Regions from separate parts of the Homo sapiens genome. Here regions 1, 2, 3, 4, 6 and 7 are each linked to region 5. The links are contacts of gene promoters, found by promoter capture Hi-C in blood cells and fetal thymus (Javierre and others, 2016). All regions are on one chromosome and are shown on one strand. The core of a region is centred on a gene start or on the middle of the fragment in contact, and the rest is flanking DNA. Distances in the headings are between cores, read along the strand shown.

What was found. The method cuts DNA at HindIII sites, captures the fragments that hold promoters and counts their contacts. A CHiCAGO score of 5 or more calls a contact.
Region 1: a fragment that was not itself captured here is called in contact with the fragment with the promoter of ABT1 in region 5 in 7 of 17 cell types (M1 macrophages, total CD8 T cells, M0 macrophages and 4 more); the score reaches 8.2 in M1 macrophages.
Region 2: a contact is called between a fragment that was not itself captured here and the fragment with the promoter of ABT1 in region 5, in 1 of 17 cell types (neutrophils). The highest score is 5.1, in neutrophils.
Region 3: a contact is called between the fragment with the promoter of H1-1 here and the fragment with the promoter of ABT1 in region 5, in 1 of 17 cell types (neutrophils). The highest score is 9.9, in neutrophils.
Region 4: a contact is called between a fragment that was not itself captured here and the fragment with the promoter of ABT1 in region 5, in 1 of 17 cell types (neutrophils). The highest score is 5.2, in neutrophils.
Region 6: a contact is called between a fragment that was not itself captured here and the fragment with the promoter of ABT1 in region 5, in 1 of 17 cell types (fetal thymus). The highest score is 5.5, in fetal thymus.
Region 7: a contact is called between the fragment with the promoter of H2BC3 here and the fragment with the promoter of ABT1 in region 5, in 4 of 17 cell types (monocytes, neutrophils, naive B cells and 1 more). The highest score is 11.9, in monocytes.

The regions. Positions count from the first base shown.
Region 1 is chr6:27,476,941-27,479,660 of GRCh38, forward strand. TRS-AGA2-2 (tRNA-Ser (anticodon AGA) 2-2) reads left to right here and starts at 1,872; the gene lies at 1,872-1,953. The HindIII fragment of the contact is 1,893 bases long and covers 416-2,308 here.
Region 2 is chr6:25,999,865-26,002,564 of GRCh38, forward strand. LINC02980 (long intergenic non-protein coding RNA 2980) reads left to right here. Exons shown (of 3, transcript NR_186645.1): 3 at 1,386-1,911. Among named protein-coding and RNA genes, the nearest start is that of LINC02980, 8.5 kb to the left of the region's middle. RefSeq lists an enhancer at 1-289. The HindIII fragment of the contact is 819 bases long and covers 980-1,798 here.
Region 3 is chr6:26,016,375-26,019,074 of GRCh38, forward strand. H1-1 (H1.1 linker histone, cluster member) reads right to left here and starts at 1,413. Exons shown (of 1, transcript NM_005325.4): 1 at 658-1,413. The coding sequence starts at 1,358. The coding sequence ends at 711. It also overlaps the pseudogene H3P26. RefSeq lists an enhancer at 1-605. The HindIII fragment of the contact is 5,921 bases long and covers 80-2,700 here.
Region 4 is chr6:26,061,971-26,064,670 of GRCh38, forward strand. No RefSeq gene overlaps it. Among named protein-coding and RNA genes, the nearest start is that of H1-2, 6.9 kb to the left of the region's middle. RefSeq lists a silencer at 2,657-2,700. The HindIII fragment of the contact is 576 bases long and covers 1,000-1,575 here.
Region 5 is chr6:26,595,565-26,598,324 of GRCh38, forward strand. It overlaps ABT1 (activator of basal transcription 1), which reads left to right and starts at 1,389. Exons shown (of 3, transcript NM_013375.4): 1 at 1,389-1,659; 2 at 2,350-2,546; 3 at 2,701-2,760. The coding sequence starts at 1,419. RefSeq lists enhancers at 271-420, 521-680, 1,238-1,677. The HindIII fragment of the contact is 8,276 bases long and covers 1-2,760 here.
Region 6 is chr6:27,504,921-27,507,620 of GRCh38, forward strand. It overlaps TRS-TGA4-1 (tRNA-Ser (anticodon TGA) 4-1), which reads right to left and starts at 989; the gene lies at 908-989. RefSeq lists an enhancer at 722-801 and silencers at 912-1,343, 922-981. The HindIII fragment of the contact is 677 bases long and covers 1,015-1,691 here.
Region 7 is chr6:26,042,068-26,044,970 of GRCh38, forward strand. It overlaps H2BC3 (H2B clustered histone 3), which reads right to left and starts at 1,646. Exons shown (of 1, transcript NM_021062.3): 1 at 1,160-1,646. The coding sequence starts at 1,590. The coding sequence ends at 1,210. It also overlaps the pseudogene H2AC5P. RefSeq lists an enhancer at 1,890-2,129. The HindIII fragment of the contact is 16,277 bases long and covers 1-2,903 here.

The sequences.
Region 1 (2,720 bases), core at 112-2,611, 880 kb after region 5:
TGAACAACAATCTATAGCACAACTTATATTTGTATGGACACCTGGCTACCCCATCAAACTGCTTCATGTCTATTCCCTCAAATTATGGTCTTCCATAAAACTAGTGAATTTCTTTTAGTCTTCTTTTGAGCCTGTAGGGGTGAGAGAATCTTTTTTCTCCCTTCTGGAGGTTGGATATTTGAGTCTGAGAAATAAAGCTGCTAGTAGACAGATTAACAGAAGAAAAGGCATACACATTTATTATGCACATATGCACAGAGGTCCCAGAAAGTGTAAGTGAGACTCAAAGAAGGGGCAGATGGTTGAAGCTTAAATAGGACTTGGAGCTACATAAAGAAATAGGAGCTTGAAGGCTCCTGGAAGGTGGTGGCGAGAAGCAATGTGAGGGTCAGGGCAGGAACAGCTCTGGGAACAAAGCTTGTCTTATTATACAGATAAAGTCTCTCAAGTAGCAGCCCTCAGAATAGGTGGTGAAGAAAAGAATTGAAGTCTGGCTGGGCGAGATGTCCCGGGCATGGAGACCTTTAGTTTTCTCTCCTGGGATCTGAGTTAATCTTCTCTGGTTAATACAGATTCCAGGAGAGGGTTCATGACAATCTCTTTCCTTCTGGAGGAACCTCCGTAAGTCAAATAAGGGAAACTTCAGTGAAAGCCCCTCCCTGCCATTCAAGAAAGAAAGAGGATCAGGAGGCAGTGGGGCTGCGGAAGGTCAGAGAGACTTTGATTCTGAGGTTGCTTCTTTAGTTCAAAGTACTCAGCACTTCCAAGAGCCATACTTTGGGGTATCATTTTCTGAGCTCTAACAAGGGTCCTCAGAAAATCTCTGTCTCTTCCCTTCCCGGTCTTCCTTCGTTTCTCCTCTTCCTCTTCCTCCTCTTCTTTCTCCTTCATCCTCTTCTTTCTACCTCCTGTCCCTCCTTCCTTTCTCTCTTCTCCTTTCTGGTCACTTTCTTCTTTTCCTCTTCCTTCTTGTCCCTCTTCCTCATTTATCTACTTAGTCGACATGATTTCTTAGCTTGCGATTGTTTCCCTCTTTTCTTAGATTAGTATATGGTTCCAAGAAGTAGATGAAAGCCAATTACAATAATCTGTGCATCCAAAGGGCTCAGGGAAACTCCAGGACCGGCAGCTTTAGACTTCAAGACGGAAGCATAAGAGGAAAAGAAAACATACTGCGTGGGTTAGATTTTGAGAGAAGGAGCGTCTGCCTTGGCCAAAAATCAAAGTAGGATCTTCCTTTTGATAGGTAACCTGGTTCCATGGGAACTCATGAACAATCTATAAATTTCTTTCTTAACCCAACTGAAGCGTGGAAGCGCATTGTGAAATGCAAAATGCCGTGCAAACGAGACCGGGTAGATATACTCCCTTGGGTTGGTGTGAGCCTAGAGACTTAGGGACCTCATCAGAGCAAGAAAGTGCAAGTAGGCTTTTCTGCATCATTTTCTGGCCCTCCAGTTCAGACACAAATCAAAAGTTAGTCCCTTCTTGAAAGCCATTAGCATTCATCAAGGAGCCTCAATGAGAGGAAGTTTCAAACAAAAACTAAATGTGTCAGGCCCAGATTTACGGTGAGGGTCTGATTCCACTTCCTTGCGGGGTCAGTTTGGGTCCAGGTGAGAGAGGTACAGTGGTCTCTAGTTTTCTGGAAACGGTACTGCTGATAGGGCAAGGACTCCTTGCGGCTGCCCCAGAGAGGTTGGCTTGTCTTATCCAACTTGCACTTCACGTTAGAGTTTCTAATGAACTCGCAGACTCCAGTTTCTTGCCCAGGAAACCATTTTTACCGTATTTTGTTCTTTTGACCGTTTCTTGTCAGTTAGCTGGTGTAAATTCTGTTTAAAGATGTGAAGGGAGCCTTCTCCATTCGTGTAGTCGTGGCCGAGTGGTTAAGGCGATGGACTAGAAATCCATTGGGGTCTCCCCGCGCAGGTTCGAATCCTGCCGACTACGGGATGTTTTACTGAGAACAGTTCAGCGAGGAAATAGGATCTCACATTTGCTTTCAGTTTGGGAGTAAAGAAACTCGTGATAGAGCCTCTGCGTGTCACCTAACATAGCCTGAACTTTTGCCGACTTCGGGATGTTTTACTGAGAACAGTTCAGAGAGGAAATACGATGTCATATTTGCTTTCAGTTTGGGAGTAAAGGAACTCGTAATAGAGCTTCTGCGTGCCACTTAACGCAGCCTGAACTTTTGCCGACTTCGGGATGTTTTACTGAGAACAGAGAGGAATCGTATTTACTTCAGAGAGGAAATACGATGTCATATTTGCTTTCAGTTTGGGGGCGAGGGAACTCGTGATAAAGCTTCTGCGTGCCACTTGACGCATCCTGAACTTTAAAAATACATCTGCAGACTCTTTATCTATTTTACCTCAACGGAGCGCAGGTATTGGTCCCACCTCTGCTTTTCCTGTCTTTGAAACCAACCGATGCACCTTTCGGGATTTGTAACTCCTATGTTAGCTAGGGCTCCAACCATGGTTGAACATAGACGGAAACCAGTGCGTCACAAAGGAGGCTAGCGAGAGTTCTTTTTTAAAAGGGTCTGACAAAGCGTCCGAGGAATGAAGGAGGAACTGGAGAGGATTCGCGGTTGGGCGGAGACACGTTCGCTGAATTGCCTTGCGTATATTTGGTAGGGGAAACGTGTGACTACAGAGCAAAGAAAGATGGACAATAGCGAGTAACTTCACAGGGATTTCCTAAGAGCTCCA
Region 2 (2,700 bases), core at 139-2,638, 600 kb before region 5:
TGTTTATGTGTATGCATATCTAAAGCACAGCACTTAATTCTTTACCTTGTTTATGATGCAGAGACCTTTGTTCACGTGTTTACCTGCTGACCTTCTCTCCACTATTATCCTTTGACCCTGCCACATCCCCCTCTCCGAGAAACACCCAATAATGATCAATAAATACTAAGGGAACTCAGAGGCCGGTGGGATCCTCCGTATGCTGAACACCGGTCCCCTGGACCCCTTTTTTTCTTTCTCTATACTTTGTCTCTGTGTCTCTTTCTTTTCCAAGTCTCTCATTCCACCTAACGAGAAACAACCACAGGTGTGGAGGGGCAGCCCAACCCTTCAACCTACCTATCTTATCTCTTCCATTATCTATCCACATATGTCCTCTGTATTTTTTTGAGTAACATTTATAAGCATAAGTCCTTAGGTAGCTATGCCACTTACATAATGAACTAGAAAAGGTAACCAAACAGAATAGGGTTGTACTCAGATATACCTTCTACAAGTTTGTGTTACACATATTTACACATATTTAAAAATATATACATATTATTATTGTGCTGTGTGGTTATTAGGCAAACTCAATAAGCAGTTCTTATAAAGTATACTCAATGTAACTTTTATAAACTTACCATATTTTATAGTTATTCTGTTTTTATTAGCTGCTATAAACTACCTGGGTGTCTTGCATGAGTCATTTTATTGTAATGTTTTTGTATCTGTTGAATGAGGAGTTAGAAGGCATCATCTTTAAGGAGCTTTACAGGTACATGTCCAGGGCTCAATAATTTTATTATTATTTCCTGGACAGATAAAACCTAAGCAGGTGAAGGGGAAAGAATAAAAGTGCAGGGTGGAAGTTGCTTGAATGCTAACTGGGTCAACGATCTCCCAGAAAACCCCTGTAAAAGAAACCTAAGAACCTACATCACCAGGAGACCATTGGGACCAGTTCCTCTGGAATCCCTGAGGCCAGATAATCAGCTGAAGCTTTACATTCTGTCCCTTTCTGGTCATGACTTTCTCCACAGTCTGCTTGGTGCCTCCTCCTCTGTGACTCTAAATTCTTAGGATCAACCCCTCTTGCATATGCACATCCGCAGTGCCTGTGGGATACGGTGTGGTGTGGGGAGGAAACTCTCTTCTGCCTTAATATTTTCCTGTGTGCCCCAGGCCTTGACGGAATCCTGTCTCTCCATAATGTTGCTTTTCGAGGAGACTGATTGATTGAGATGGCGTCTCACTTTGTCGCCCAGGCTGGAATGCAGTGGCGTGATCTCGGCTCACCAACCTCCACCTCCAAGGCTCGAGTGATTCTCCCACTTAAGTCTCTTGAGTAGCTGGGACTACAGGTGCATGCCACCACGCCTGACAAATTTTTTTATTTTTTGTAGAGATGAGGTTTCGCCATGTTGACCAGGCTGGTCTCAAACTCCTGGACTCAAGTGATCTGCCCACCTCGGCCTCCCAAAGTACTGGGATTACAGGCATGAGCCAATGTGCCCGTCCTGAGGAGTTTTCTTCTGGAATTCCTGCTGGGTTTTTGTAGTCAGTCCTCTCCCCATTTCCCACATTGGCTCTTGCAGACCTTCCTTTTCCCCATTTCTATTTGCTACCATGTCAGACATGACTTTTGCCATAGGATCTCTATTCTACTATAGAGGAAACCAAAGCCATCAGTAGAAATTTCACTAACATGGAATCAGATTTATAGAAGAAAGGGGGAGGAAAGTTTTGCCTTAACACCTGGAAGGGTTTCGTTTCTTTTAGTAGCTGGGAGACAGAAACATAAGAAAGTAGCTTAGTAAGCTTTCTGCTGTTCAACTGATGATGTGTGAGCTGTCAGTAGTTCAAACTAGTCATTATCTTTATGAATTAATTATGTAATAACTTAAACAATGTCATAAACCTTCAAATCAGTTTAAGTCTAAATGTGTCATATTTAATAACAAGAGCAAGAAACATACGTTATGATGAAGAGCTCTTATATTTTCTTTGGATAAAAGTCAGTAGGCGGGGCGCGGTGGCTCATGCCTGTGATCCTAGCACTTTGGGAGGCTGAGGTGGGCAGATCATGAGGTCAGGAGATCGAGACCATCCCGGCTAACACGGTGAAACCCTGTCTCTACTAAAAATACAAAAAATTAGCTGGGCGTGGTGGCGGGCGCCTGTGGTCCCAGCTACTCGGGAGGTTGAGGCAGGAGAATGGCGTGAATCCGGGAGGCGGAGGTTGCAGTGAGCCGAGATTGTGCCACTGCATTCCAGCCTGGGCGACAGAGCAAGACTCCGTCTCAGAAAAAGAAAAAAAAAAAAAGTCAGTAAAATTTAAGAGAAAAATGCATTTGCTTTGGGACTTTTAATATTTAGTCTACAAATCTAGCCACCATAGAAATCTGCTGATTAAATACGGGTTCTGTTAAAATGGAAACATGCATTTTGGGGGAAAAAAGAGGGAGTGTTTTAGTGATTTTGTTTTTTACACTTGTTTATAATAAAATTTTAAGCAATCTTGAGGGGAACATTTTATTTCTACTTGTAACTGCATAAAGTTATGAGATAAAGTTACAAGCTATATCACATACAGTTTGTAGCTTTATAAATTATGAAATTCTAACAGAATAAATATGCTAATATGATGAAAATGTCATAAATTACATTAGAATATATTTTAATAAACCAATTCAGAAGGAGCCAATACCCAATTTCAAA
Region 3 (2,700 bases), core at 163-2,662, 580 kb before region 5:
CAAGGGCCTAAACCAAGTCGACAGCCCGTAAGTGCACCCATGGTAAGGCGCTGCACAAAGAAAGCATTTTGCGTTTCAAAGCTTTGTCATGATGGCGCTGCAGAAAGCAAGCGAGCTAGGCCTACCTGGCGGGGCTTTCAGAGGACGCCAACGTGGGCGCCAGCCACGCCAGCAGGGTCACCGTCCTTCCCAAGGACAGACAGCTCGCTAGCCACTCCTGTGGAGAGGGCGTGGTTAAGCCATATATTTTGCCAACTATCCCAGAAGCATTTCTTAGGACCACCCAATTTCGGAAAATGCTACTTTAGCAATATTGACCCCAAAACGCAATATCCCCACTTTAACCTTGTATAATAAAAAGCCTCAAGCCTGGGACTGGGCTTCAACCTTGGTTCAATACGGTTATGACTAATTAGCTTGGAGTCGTGAGACGCGGGACTTCCGGCTACCGAAACCCAGGTGACTTTAAAACTCGATTTTAACTCGGTGCATTTGAATTCACCTTGCTATCTTTGATAGATTGAGTAGTAAATTCTTACTAGATGAGGCTATGTTAAAGTTCTATCGACTCTCCAAGTGATTCTAATATAATTGAGGGCGTGTTGCATTTGCTTGGGGGATTTCATCTGTGTACTACAGCTCTTTTCCTGAAATGCGTAGGTGGCTCTTAAAAGAGCCGTTGGGTTACTAGAAGAAACTTCTAACTGAATTTACTTTTTCTTGGGTGCCGCTTTCTTGGGTTTGGCAGTCTTTGGCTTCGTCACCCTAGCCTTGGCCGCCTTGGGTTTTACAGCCTTAGCTTTAGCAGGGCTTTTAGCTACTTTCTTGGGCTTTACAGTTTTGGGTTTTTTTGGATTCTTGGAGGATTTCCTTGTTGCCGCAGGCTTTTTAGCCTTTTTCGGAGTCTTGACGCTCTTTTTGCTAGCCCCCGTGGCCTTTTTGAGCTTTTTAGATGCACCCGTTGCCTTAGTTTTTGTAGCCACCTTTGAGGCGCCGGGCTTGGTTTCCACGGAGGACGCCTTCTTGTTGAGCTTGAAGGAACCCGAGGCTCCGGTACCCTTTGTCTGCACCAACGTTCCCTTGCTTACCAGGCTCTTAATGCCCAGCTTAATGCGGCTGTTGTTCTTCTCCACGTCGTAGCCTGCGGCCGCCAGCGCCTTTTTAAGAGCTGCCAACGACACACCACCACGCTCCTTAGAGGAGGAAGCAGCCTGCACGATCAGCTCTGACACGGAAGGGCCAGCGGGTTTTTTCTTGGAGGCTGCTGCAGCCTTAGCAGGTTTCTTTGCCTTCTTGCCAGCTAAAGGTTTCTCAGGAGCAGCAGAAGCGGCGGGGGCGGGAGGCACTGTTTCAGACATGGTGACTAACACAGCACACCAAATAAAGTGGTATAAACCTGACGAAGCAGGATGCGAAAAAAAGGCCCCAACGCAGCCTATTTATAGGGTGGGACTGCGCCGTGATTGGTGCCCGTCAGTGCCCGCCCCTCGCGCCCTAGCGCCCCCTGCGCGCTGCCGAGGGTTTCGCCCAGTCTCAGAAGGCAGCTGGGGGCCTCTAGGGCCTATGGTCCTGCTCCCCTCAACGCAAGCAAACACACAGAAAAAGCCGCTCTGGTTGCCTCATTGTGAAGGAAATTGTAGGCAGACTGCCGCCCAGTAACATCAGAGGGTACCGCTTCTCTCTCAAAAAGCAGCTCTTTTTTAGGGAGTAGGTTGAGAGGGGGCGGTTTACAAATGCAGTGCCACAAGCATCCGAGGAGTTTTATTAGAAATTTTTAGAGGTCCGTTGCCAGAGATGTTAGTTTTTAATTTGCAAGAAATGTAAAATACAGTGTTTTGAATAGTTGCGGAGGGAGAGAAAAGTGCGAGTTTTAGGCCGTGTTAGGGCCAGTTGTCATCAACTCTATTACATTTTCTGGCAATGTTTTAGAGCGATGTGTCTCGCGAATACCTTTCACGTCAAACAAGAATGAATCGTAGACAACACCAGAATTCACAAACGCTGCAATTAATACTCAAACTGCAAGTGTGGAAACGTTTCTGCACTTGCAACTTATTTCCACAGTCCAATGTGGGATGCACTTCAGGAATTTCCAATGCCCTTTTCATCCATACAACATGCCCCAAATTGGTATTAAGGTTTACAACCTGTGTTCCATGTCAGCACACGCAATCAGCGCACCATGACATGGTCAACTCATTCTTTTATTCAACAAATATTTATGGGCCTCACAAGCCTGCGAAAGGCGTTAAATGCTGGGTCCACGAAACCGGTTCCCTGACAGGCATTCTGCTGGGGAGTTAAGTCCACTTAGTGTGAAAGCAAACACGGGTGATAAATGCAAGCACACCCTGGGGATAAGATTTTATGGTAACAACCCTTTAACTTGTTTGTGGCTGTTAAGTGCATTTCAAAGTATCAATAAGCTAAAACGATCTCACATTGCCAATCAGAGACTCAGCTAATGGGAGAATAAAAAACTATTAAATCGACATCCACTTCTACAATCCTATTCTGGATAACCCCCTAGCACAGCACAGCAGAGAGTGAGGTAATGCGGTCTTATTTCCGCTCCTGCTGTGGTAGTTTTCAAATAAGTCCGAACCATGCTAAGTAACCTGAGCTTTTCCCCTTTTTGTTCAAACAACGTGCCAACCAAATAATGGAGTGGTCCCAGATAAGTATTGTACCCATCTTCTG
Region 4 (2,700 bases), core at 38-2,537, 530 kb before region 5:
CTTTCAAATGATGTCAAAGCATTTCAGAAAGTCAAACCTACCCTCAAAGGATAAGAATTTGTCAATTGTGAGGATATGCACATTTTTACACCTTCTCAATCTGTGTCTATATGAAGGCAGTTATAAAGCACAAGATGCAAACGTATATTAGGCAATAGTCTTCATCAGAATAAGTACATAACCTGACACAATGACTATATTGGAAGAAACATGGAAATGCAAATTTCAATAGATTGGTTGACATTATTTTTTAATGTCTAGTTTTTTACTGTGCTGTGTTTTTACACACTTAATGAGCACTTGTTAAGCACAGGACACCAGGAGAAATAATAAAAACTAAGATCAGCCTAGCAGTGTGTCCTCTCAAGAACTTATACCTGGTGGGACAGATACAGACAAATATAACCATCATACAGTGTGAGAAATCGATAGAAAAGACACAGCCACTGAGAGCACAAAAGAATAAAAACATAAAATGTTAATGTGCTGGCTAAACGTTTGCCTTCAAGTATTTACCAGTCTAGCTGGGAAAATAAGACAGAAGACAACAGCCTAAAATAGTGGTTCTTAAACATTTAGATATCAGGACTTCTTTACACTCCTAAAAACTATCAGGCCTCCAAAAAATATTTTGCTAAATATAGGCATTTATCACTTTGGAAAACAAAGCTGAGTATTAATTATTTAATTATTTATATTAATATTTATTTGATAACCTTTAAAATATTATAAAATTAATATTTATTTATAATGCATATATGTGATTATATAGTTCATATGTAGCCATATATTTATCATATATACCATAGATTTATGTTATATATTACATATGTATGAAGAAAAAATGGAAAGTAAACCCAAAAGTTCCCCATTCCCTAACCCATTCAAAACCCTGGAAGTCCCAGGCTAATCTGAAACTTGTAAAACTGCCTGCATGTAGAGAGCACAGCTGAGCTGGTAGTGTGGAAGAGCAGAAAGACAGCAGTTCTGGAGCAAGGAAGCTTTATATTTAATCCCAGTTTCTCCATTCATGAGCTTGGTTACCCTGCCAAGTTCCTTCTCTGTAAAATGGGAATAATACTCCCAGAAATACAGTGAGGATTAAATTAGATAATGTGCATACAGTTCCTGGGATTGGGATCAGCACACAGTAGCCTCTCATTTGAGGCATATTTGCATTAGATCCTTGCTGTATGATATCCTTCTGTTTCTTTCTTTTTTTTTTTTTTCCTTTGGTGACCCTAAGAAAGATGGTACTCTCCTTAACTTGGAGGGCTGGATGCGAAGAGACCAAATCCAACAAGCTGGTTCATTCTTTCTAATTATGTGTGCTTCCCTTAGCTGCCTCTGAAAGGATACAGGCCCTAGGTACTAGCCCCAAGAAGCCTAATGATAAGAGATAGAGCTGGACCACCAGAGAAGAGATGAGTGTGTATGTGTGTGTGTGCAAGCAATTATATGTGTGCATTTAGGAGTGGTAGGTGTGTAAACAGTCTAGAACACTCATTCTCACTGTGATGTGAGGATGTATCCCCACATCACTGTTCTGGGAGCTCACTCCTTGTCCATCATCCAAGCTTATGATGGACAATTCTTTCCCAAGTGGGAAAGAATTCTGATGACACTCACATAACTACCCAGTCCCAACTTTCTGTATCCAAGGTGTGTGCATACCTTTGATAGCAGGCAGGTGTGCCTAGCCAATATATTAGGAGCATGGTATTCCAGCACTCTGCACTTTTTTACTATAGAATTCATCTCAACCTGCTTACATTACATGAAAGTTTTGATTGATATCAAATTTTTATTATGTTTGCTTATCAAAGGATTTGTAATTATGCTTCAGTTGATACATAGATTGTTTATATTTTTCATGGTTACTTGAAGCACTTATATTTTCCTCATACTTTTACAAAGTAATCAAGGAAAAATACAGAGGCAGCTTAGTATATTAGTCAAAAGAATAATTAGACTGTCTTGGAACCTGGAATGTCTGAGTTCAAATTCAATTTTGCCGTTTTACCAGCTGTGTGACTTTGGGTGAGTTAATAAACCTTTTCGTGTCTCAGTGTTCTCACATGTAAAGAGACAATAATAAGCCTACCTGTTTCATGGGTCATTATGAGGATTAAGGAGTTAACATTTAAATAGTTCTTAGAACAACCTCTGACATATTTTAAGTACAAAAATATATACATATATTAAATAATAACTTTTCTAAAACATCCTACCTACAATCTTGTGTGCAAATTGGTGGCTCAATTCTGCAACTGTTGTTGGTGGTGTTGTTGTTAAGCTTTTGTTTGTCATGACTGTTATCAGTAATATTAATACAGACAGTTAACTGAACCCTTCCTCTGCACCAGGCATTATATGGACTATTTTCATTCTGACTCCCTGCATTCTATGAGACAACCACCATTGTAATCATTCTCACGTTGCCAATAAGGAAATGGAGAATGAGAATTCAGACTTCTCCAAGAAGTGCTGCAGACTGATTATAAATCATGCATCCTAAACACACACATATTAAAGTATCAACTAAATCAAACAGAATAAAACTTTTGTTTTTCTATCTACAAAATGCATGAATTAAAATATGCCCCAACTACTTAACTAATATATTTAGTAAGTAGAGGGATGGAAGCGTTTTCACTCCTTCAATACATTCTTCATCAACCTCTCTCACCTTACCCCTCT
Region 5 (2,760 bases), core at 139-2,638:
TAAAGTTAATGAAACAGGCGTGTTTGAATTCGAGAAGTCTATTATTAGACTTTTAGACACTCCATGAAAGAGTGCAGGGCCCTGTTACTTTAGAAATATACTTGGGGACTGGCAAAAACTGTCATCTCTGATTTTAATAGTGGACACATTTACTCCCTGCTTCCATTCTCTGGGCTACTCTGCGCTCTTGGAGCGAGATGGGAAATTTTGTCAGGCCGCAGCAAGGACGGATTTATGTTGATAGTCATCAAACTCGCCCCGGGCTGCTTCCAGAAAGCTAACCGGATTACTTGTACGCGGTTCCCAGCACTGTCCTTTGCAGTCAGCTTGTCGCTGGCGCCGATGGGAAGAACTGAAACGCCTCAAGGGTGGGGACGGCGCCCCCTGCTGGTCGCGCCCTCGGGCGACGATAAGAGACTGAGGACCCGAGCCCGCGCGGGGAAAACTGCCCTGAGCTTGGCTTAGGGATGGTCCGCAGGCCGCCTGGTGGGAGCAGGACCGCCGTGGCCCGGTCCGTTCTGCGGTTGCGTAGGTCATAGAAGGAAAAGTGGTTTGTGATCTGATAGGGAATCTGAGGACAGACCCAGGGAGAGCAGAAATAAGCGCGCCGCCGGGGGGTCGCCAGAATTGGAGGCTTGTGCGCCTCTGACAAGTATTTGCAACATAAGTATGCATATGGATAATGTATCAATACACACGTGTAATAGATGCCAAACAAATTCTTCAAATAATTGTCACACATTTAAATTTTCAGACATTCACAAAATCAAATGTAAAATATTAAACTGAAAGTTCACAACTTAAATTTTCAAAAATTAAATCTAATTAAATTTCCAAAGTTGAACTGTTTTCAAAATTAAATTTTAAAATATTCAAAATTCCGAGGTAAATTTCCAGAAATAGTTAAAACCTCAAAACTCAAAATTTTTAAATGAAATTTATAAACTTTAAAAGGTGAGTCATTCCTCAGCTGGAATCGCACCCGGGGCCCTTGAATAAAATGCTATTTTGATCGCTAGAACACATAGAAACTTCTCTAAAATTGTTCTGCAAAATTCCCTAAAAAGCCGGCATCAACCCGCCTTTTAGCGTCTCGACAAGGCGTTCTATAGGGTAGGTTATATTTGGGGATCTGCCTTTTCTGGTTCTGCCTGTCCTGAGTTGGAGATCTGACCGGGAATCTGAGCCTAACCCAAGTTTCCCATCCCGCTTCCACGCTCTGAATCAGGCTTCCGACCTGACACACCACTTCCTCCCTCTCCCCTCGGCCTTCCCCTGGACCCGACTGTATTGCCCAATCATTTCCTTTCATTTGTCATCACCACCTTGGACCCGCCCCCTCGTCTCAGGCCGTCGCACGCGTTTTGCGTCAGTTGGCAAGGCACTTTACGGCCGTCGTGCCGCTCGTGTCAGTCAACATGGAGGCAGAGGAATCGGAGAAGGCCGCAACGGAGCAAGAGCCGCTGGAAGGGACAGAACAGACACTAGATGCGGAGGAGGAGCAGGAGGAATCCGAAGAAGCGGCCTGTGGCAGCAAGAAACGGGTAGTGCCAGGTATTGTGTACCTGGGCCATATCCCGCCGCGCTTCCGGCCCCTGCACGTCCGCAACCTTCTCAGCGCCTATGGCGAGGTCGGACGCGTCTTCTTTCAGGCTGAGGGTAAGTATGCAGGCCCTGACGGTGACAGGAGGAGGTTGTCGCTCGCTGGCGGGGTGCAAGCATGCATGTCCTGTTGCTTCGCTGCGCGAGGCTGAGGCACGAGTTGCTGGATTTTGGGGGTGGGGAGTGCGGTGCTTGGCTCCTGGCTGGTGAATCAGTCTGTGAGGATGCTGGGGTGGGCGGGCGGAGGGGATATGGGGAGAGTGGGTAGCGCAGTGTGTCTGGTGGTTCTTTAGTTCTCGGATTGTTACTATTTGTGTTCTTATCCCGGCTCTGTTCACCTCTCTTTCCGGACCTGTTTACTGGTTTGTTACATGAATACAACCTGAGTAAAAGTCTCGTCAGCTTTTCTACAAAACTGAACATAACTCTTTAGCATTGCTGCCTAGGTCAAGAAACTATTTGATCAACCGCCCCTCTTCTTTCCACCCTCAATTTTACATTGAGGCTGAGGACTTGTGCCGGTTTTAAGCAGCGTTCAGGGCTGGCCAGATTAAGGAGTGGACAATTAAGGAAAGAATTGAGTTAGCTAGAGGAAAGGGTGCGATTTACAGTTCCCTTCCTCCTGGGCAAAAACTCTTCAGGTGGGACTCCCACTGGCAGATGTGAAGAACGTTGCGGGCAGTGGGAGGTGCTTTTGAGTGAGTGCTGCATAGGCGTCCTGGACGGGTCTTTGTCTTTGGCGCGCAGACCGGTTCGTGAGACGCAAGAAGAAGGCAGCAGCAGCTGCCGGAGGAAAAAAGCGGTCCTACACCAAGGACTACACCGAGGGATGGGTGGAGTTCCGTGACAAGCGCATAGCCAAGCGCGTGGCGGCCAGTCTACACAACACGCCTATGGGTGCCCGCAGGCGCAGCCCCTTCCGTTATGATCTTTGGAACCTCAAGGTGAGAAGATAGATCTTTCTGCCACACCTCTCACCCTCCCTTCTCCCCAACTCTGGCCCAAGTATCCCCATGGCCTCTCATTGGCCTTGTCCCCTTGTCTCATCTTTCTCCCTAATCTGCACTATCCTGATCTTTTCTTCTTTTCTGCCCACAGTACTTGCACCGTTTCACCTGGTCCCACCTCAGCGAGCACCTCGCCTTTGAGCGCCAGGTG
Region 6 (2,700 bases), core at 103-2,602, 910 kb after region 5:
TCCTCTCTTCCGTTTTCTTGTTTTTCCACATCTTTTCGTCTTCTCCCTCGACCTTTTCTTCCCAACTTTATTCTGTATGAGAACCAAAGTACTGAGTGTCTGAAGTTACACTGTTTCCTGAATCTACTGTAAAGCCCAGATAAGTGTTCTTGGTCTTTGAATGTGCTGGAGAAGATAGGAAGAATAGACTGGGGCCAGAGAACTTCACCTTGAATTTTTCTAAGCTGTAAGATGAAGACATTTAACAAAATCAATAGAATAAAAATAATAAGGGCTTGGCAGCCAGAGGCTAGCTTTAACATCCACTTCCTGTGGTTTAATAAACCTTTCCCATTCTTGGGCTCTCGAATTTTTAGGCCGAGAAGATACAGTGTGTGTGGTACTGTCTACAAACCAACGAATTTATATTGAAGCTACAATCACAATCATTGTTATTGCTGCAAAACAGGTAATGCCTTGTTGCTGTTGAATGACAGTCCCTAAACTTGGGCTAACAAAACACTTAATACACTATAGGCAAAATCTTCACACACCAGACAAGCAACTTAGACTTATCTACAGAGAAAACTCGATGGAGTCTGACTTCGATTCTCAGAGCTTGTAGGTGAGGAAAAGAGAATTGCCTTCCTCAAATCAGGATTAACGTTAGGTGGTGTTTACACCACAGCAATAGATTCTCTCTTACTCGAGACACGGTTGTCTCGGATGTTGGAGGAGGAGGAAAGTAATGGACTCAGAGAAAGAGGTAAACTACAACGCAGGGTTAATAATGATGATGACAGCTAGAATGCAGAGTTCAACGCAGTGTTACCAAAGGAGATGACACAATTGTAATCCAGGAGACTCAGTTGCCTTTGGGGTGCAATTAGAAGGAAACTATTTGGGAGAAGTCAGGCTAAAACCAAACCGTAGCCGACAGGATTCGAACCTGCGCGGGGAAACCCCAATGGATTTCAAGTCCATCGCCTTAACCACTCGGCCACGACTACGCACCTGTGTAGTGCTCTTGGTTTAAGCTTTTGAAGATGTGAGCAGTGTGCCATTCTTGGGTAGTATGGTAAGTAGATACTACAGTAAAAGATGTTTTGGTGCCTGGTTACTAAGTCTAGTAACAAAGAATTTTCTAGGTGCATTAAGAGCTTCCAGCTTTTAGATGAAATAAGTCATCCATACTGAATTGGAATTCAGTTGAGAAAAGTGGAGTTCAAAGGAGCATTCTGAGACAAGAGACTTGGATTTTCTCTCCCCCTAGAACTCCACTTGCTAGTCACGGTTGATGCACCTGTTCACAGGTATTTGTGAGAAACCAGCAGAAAGGGAGTTTGGAGCTGAGGGTCTGATCCTAGTAGCTTCACAGCCTCAAATGACAATAGCACAGGAAACCTGCTAGAGGAAATTTGAAGGAATTATGACCTTGGAGTCATTTGCTTTTGCTTTCAGTATTGAATACTAAACCAGAAATATCTTCAACAGCTTTGAACTGCTTTGTCCTTTCTCTGGCTTAAAGAATTCGTTGAAACCCAATTTGAGCAGGGGTGCAGGATGAGAAGGGGCAGGGAAGACCTAGCCCTCGTGGACCCTCTGAAGAAAAAGTTGATGGGAAGGTCTCCATCCTCTCAGGAAAACTCACTCCTTTTCACCTTCCCCAGGGAGGGAAGCAGGCAGTCCCAGGAGCCAGGGGAATATGGAGAAGCTTAGATAACATGTTTTCCAAAATTTTGCAGCTTGAGAACATTGTCTGTCCCTCCTAACGTAAAAGAGCTTGTGAATGCCACATTAAATCTAGCTATATTAATACCTTTTTACCCCCTAGGATTAAAGACTGTTGGTTCAGGAAAACACTGCAGAACCAGGCTTTTATTGTTTATTCTTTAATGGGGAATCTCAGGGATTACAGCTTTGAGTTCTGGGAATTGAAATGCTTGGCCAAAGTACCACCAAGTAGATTCAGACAGACTTTCAGATACAAACGAGAGAATCTCTTTTACACCTGAGACCCTCGAACTCTCTTGCAGATACAGTTTTCCCACATGCATTTTCGTTTAGGGCAGACAAAAAGGCAGTTGCTCCTGAAGTGAATTGCATTGTGTTGCCCAGAAAGATATGTTGAAATCCTAACCTGTGGTACCTGTGAGTGTGACCTATTTGAAAACAGTCTTCGCTGATTTAATCAAGTTAAGAGAAGATCATGCTGGATTCAGGTAGGCTCTAAATCCAGTAATCCAGTGACTGCTGTCCTTATAGGAAGTGAGAAATTTAGAGACACAGACACATAGTCACTAGTTCAAAAGCTATGTTGAGAGGGAGGCAGAGACTGGAGTGATGCAATTACAAACCAAGAATGCCAAGGATTTTCTTCAACCATCAGGAGCAAGGAAAGAGGTCTCAGATTTTCCCTCAGAGCACCTAGAAAACAACCAACCCGGCCAAAATCTTAAGAATAAATCTGTCTTTTTAAGTTACCCAGTTTATAGTAATTTGTTAGGGCAGTCTTAGGAAACTAATCAGCTCCCTTACCCATGTTCTTGGAACAAGATCCTTGCTGTTGCTGCCTTAGCACTTCTCCATTCCACCAGGAAGCTCGTGCAAATGGTGACTCACTTCTTTTTTTCTTTTTCCTTGAGATGGAGTCTTGCTCTGTCGCCAGGCTTGGAGTGCAGTGGCAGGACCTTGGCTCACTGCAACCTCCAACTCCCTGGT
Region 7 (2,903 bases), core at 396-2,895, 550 kb before region 5:
AAAAAATAAAGGAAGGAAAAAAGAAGAAAAAAAGAGAAGAAAAGTGTCAGAGTTACTTGAACCAGAGTAACTCCATTTTGAGTGAGGGCTAGGAAAATGAGGCTGAGACTTTCTGGGCTGCATTCCCAGAAAGTCAGTCATTCCTAGCTTCTAGATGTTTACGGTTAAGGGAACAAATAAATAATGTTTACTAAACAGACTCAGACTTAGGAGTGTCCAGATATCCCTATATCTGGAGAACAAAGGCATTCTTAATTTTGTTTAAAGATAATAATGTTGATTCTTGCAAAATATAGTAACTAAGAAAATTAATCCTTTATCACAAACTTGTAGCAGAGCACATCTCCCCATATATACAAGTATTGTACCTAGGGTGGATGCCTTCCTCCTCTTACTTTCGGGAATGTCCTGCTCCGTCTATGGAGTAGTTGTCGTTTCACCACTTTACTTTCTTAGTAAACTTGCATTTACTTTGCACTGCGGACTCACCCTGAACTCTTTCTTGCGCGGGATCCAAGAACCCTCTCTTGGGGTCTGGATGGGGACCTCTTTCCTGTAACATATTTCTGGCCACCACAGAAGGGACTATAGTACAGAAACCCTGACCCAACAGCTACCTTTGGGTAAGTGTTGGAGTTCTGTAACAAAGGAAGAAGGCAGGCAGGCAAAAAATTTATGAAAGAACATACGACAAAATAATTTCTGCTTCAAAACTTCATATTTTTTTAATTTTTTTTTTTTTTTTTTTTTGAGACGGAGTCTCGCTCTGTCACCCAGGCTGGAGTGCCATGGCGCGATCTCGGCTCACTGCAAGCTCCGCCTCCCGCGTTCACGCCATTCTCCTGCCTCAGCCTCCCGAGTAGCTGGGACTACAGGCGCCCACCATCACGCCCAGCTAATTATTTTGTATTTTTAGTAGAGACGGGGTTTCATCGTGTTAAGCAGGATGGTCTCCATCTCCTGACCTCGTGATCCGCCCGCCTCGGCCTCCCAAATTGCCGGGATTAAAGGCAAGAGGCACCGCGCACGGCCCCGTCCAAGTTAACCTTGGCTCTAAAACTTGTCTTCGCTAACATTCCAGTTGATCCTCTAGAACTGAAACAGAATAGCAGCAGCACCACCTTAAGAAATTGTGGTTATAGCTCTCCTTGTGACAAAGTAGGTGGCTCTGAAAAGAGCCTTTGGGTTTGGAAGTGCTTACATAAGCACTTATTTAGAGCTAGTGTACTTGGTAACTGCCTTAGTGCCCTCGGACACAGCATGCTTAGCCAGCTCCCCAGGCAGCAGCAGGCGCACAGCCGTCTGAATCTCCCTGGAGGTGATGGTCGAGCGCTTATTGTAGTGAGCCAGGCGAGAAGCCTCGCCCGCGATGCGCTCGAAGATGTCGTTGACGAAGGAATTCATGATCCCCATGGCCTTGGATGAGATGCCGGTGTCGGGGTGGACCTGCTTCAGAACCTTGTACACATAGATAGAATAGCTCTCCTTGCGGCTGCGCTTACGCTTCTTACCATCCTTCTTCTGCGCCTTAGTGATAGCCTTCTTAGAACCCTTTTTAGGGGCTGGAGCAGACTTAGAGGGTTCAGGCATTGCTATTCCTAAACAGAATAGAAAAGCTACTAACACTCTCCACTACAGAGTAGTACAGAGAACAGTTCAGAGCCCATGTATTTATAGTCCTGAGATTCAAATGACGGTTTAAGATTCCTCACTTCTGATTGGACAAAAGAAACACGGTTTCACTGAGGGGTGGGGTTTATGCAAATATGGAATTTATGTTATCTTTTTCTATTGGATAAAGCACCAAACATAATTGACCAATAGGATAGCTTCCTATTGCAGCCTTGCAGTTTGTATAAAAGGATTTGTTCAGGCGCCATTCCAGCTTGCTTGTCTTTCACAGTTTTCCGCTGCTTTCATAGGTCGCTATTTGCGGACGTGGAAAATGGAGCTAAAGCAAAAACTTGTTCGTCGCTACCGGGCTTGCAGTTCCCAATAGGGCAGAGTCCGTCATCTTTTTCGAAAGGGCAATTATTTTGAGCCGGTCGGAGCCGGTGCGCCAGTGTACTTACAATACCTGGCCGCCGAGATCTTAGAACTGGTGGGCAGCGCCATACGTGACAAGACCCGCAGCATCATCCCCCGCCACCTGCAGCTGGCCATCCGAAACGACGAGGAGGTCAACAAGCAGCTGGGCAACGTCACTATTGCTCAGGGAGGCGTCCTGTCCAATATTCAGGCCGTCCTGTTGCCAAAATAACAGAGCCACGATAAGGCCAAGGTCAAGTAAACACTCAAATCAGAAAACGTAGCTTACACTTGAAACGGCATTTTTCAGAGCCGTCCATAGTTACACAAGAAAGGATGATAACTTGCTTCTGTTAGGGTATTTTTTGCTTTTCGTTTGGATTGGTTTGTTTTGAGACAGTCTAGTTCTGTCACCCAGGCTGGAGTGCAGCGGCGCGATATCGGCTTACTGCAACCTCCACCCCGCCGCTTCACGCGGTTCTCATGCCTCAGCCTCCTGTGTACTTGGGATTACAGGCGTCTGCTACCGCGCCCAGCTAGTTTTTGTATTTTTATGCGAGACGGGGTTTCACCATTTTAGCCAGGGTTGTCTTGAACTCCTGGCCTCTAGTGATCGTCCCATCTCGCCCTCCCAAAATGCTGGGATTACAGGCGTGAGCCACCGCCCCCCTAGCCTAATGGTGTTAAAAAGTTAAGTTTCGAGAAAATAACACCTTCCTTTAGAAAGTACATTTTAGAGTATACAAAGTGAAACTTAAGGCCAACCAAAATAAGACATTTTGAGAACAGGCAGGGTGGGAATGTGACTTGGACTTAGAAAACAAAGGGCAAGGAAACTTGCTGTTCGCCAGTAACAAAATAGCATGGAATCTCAT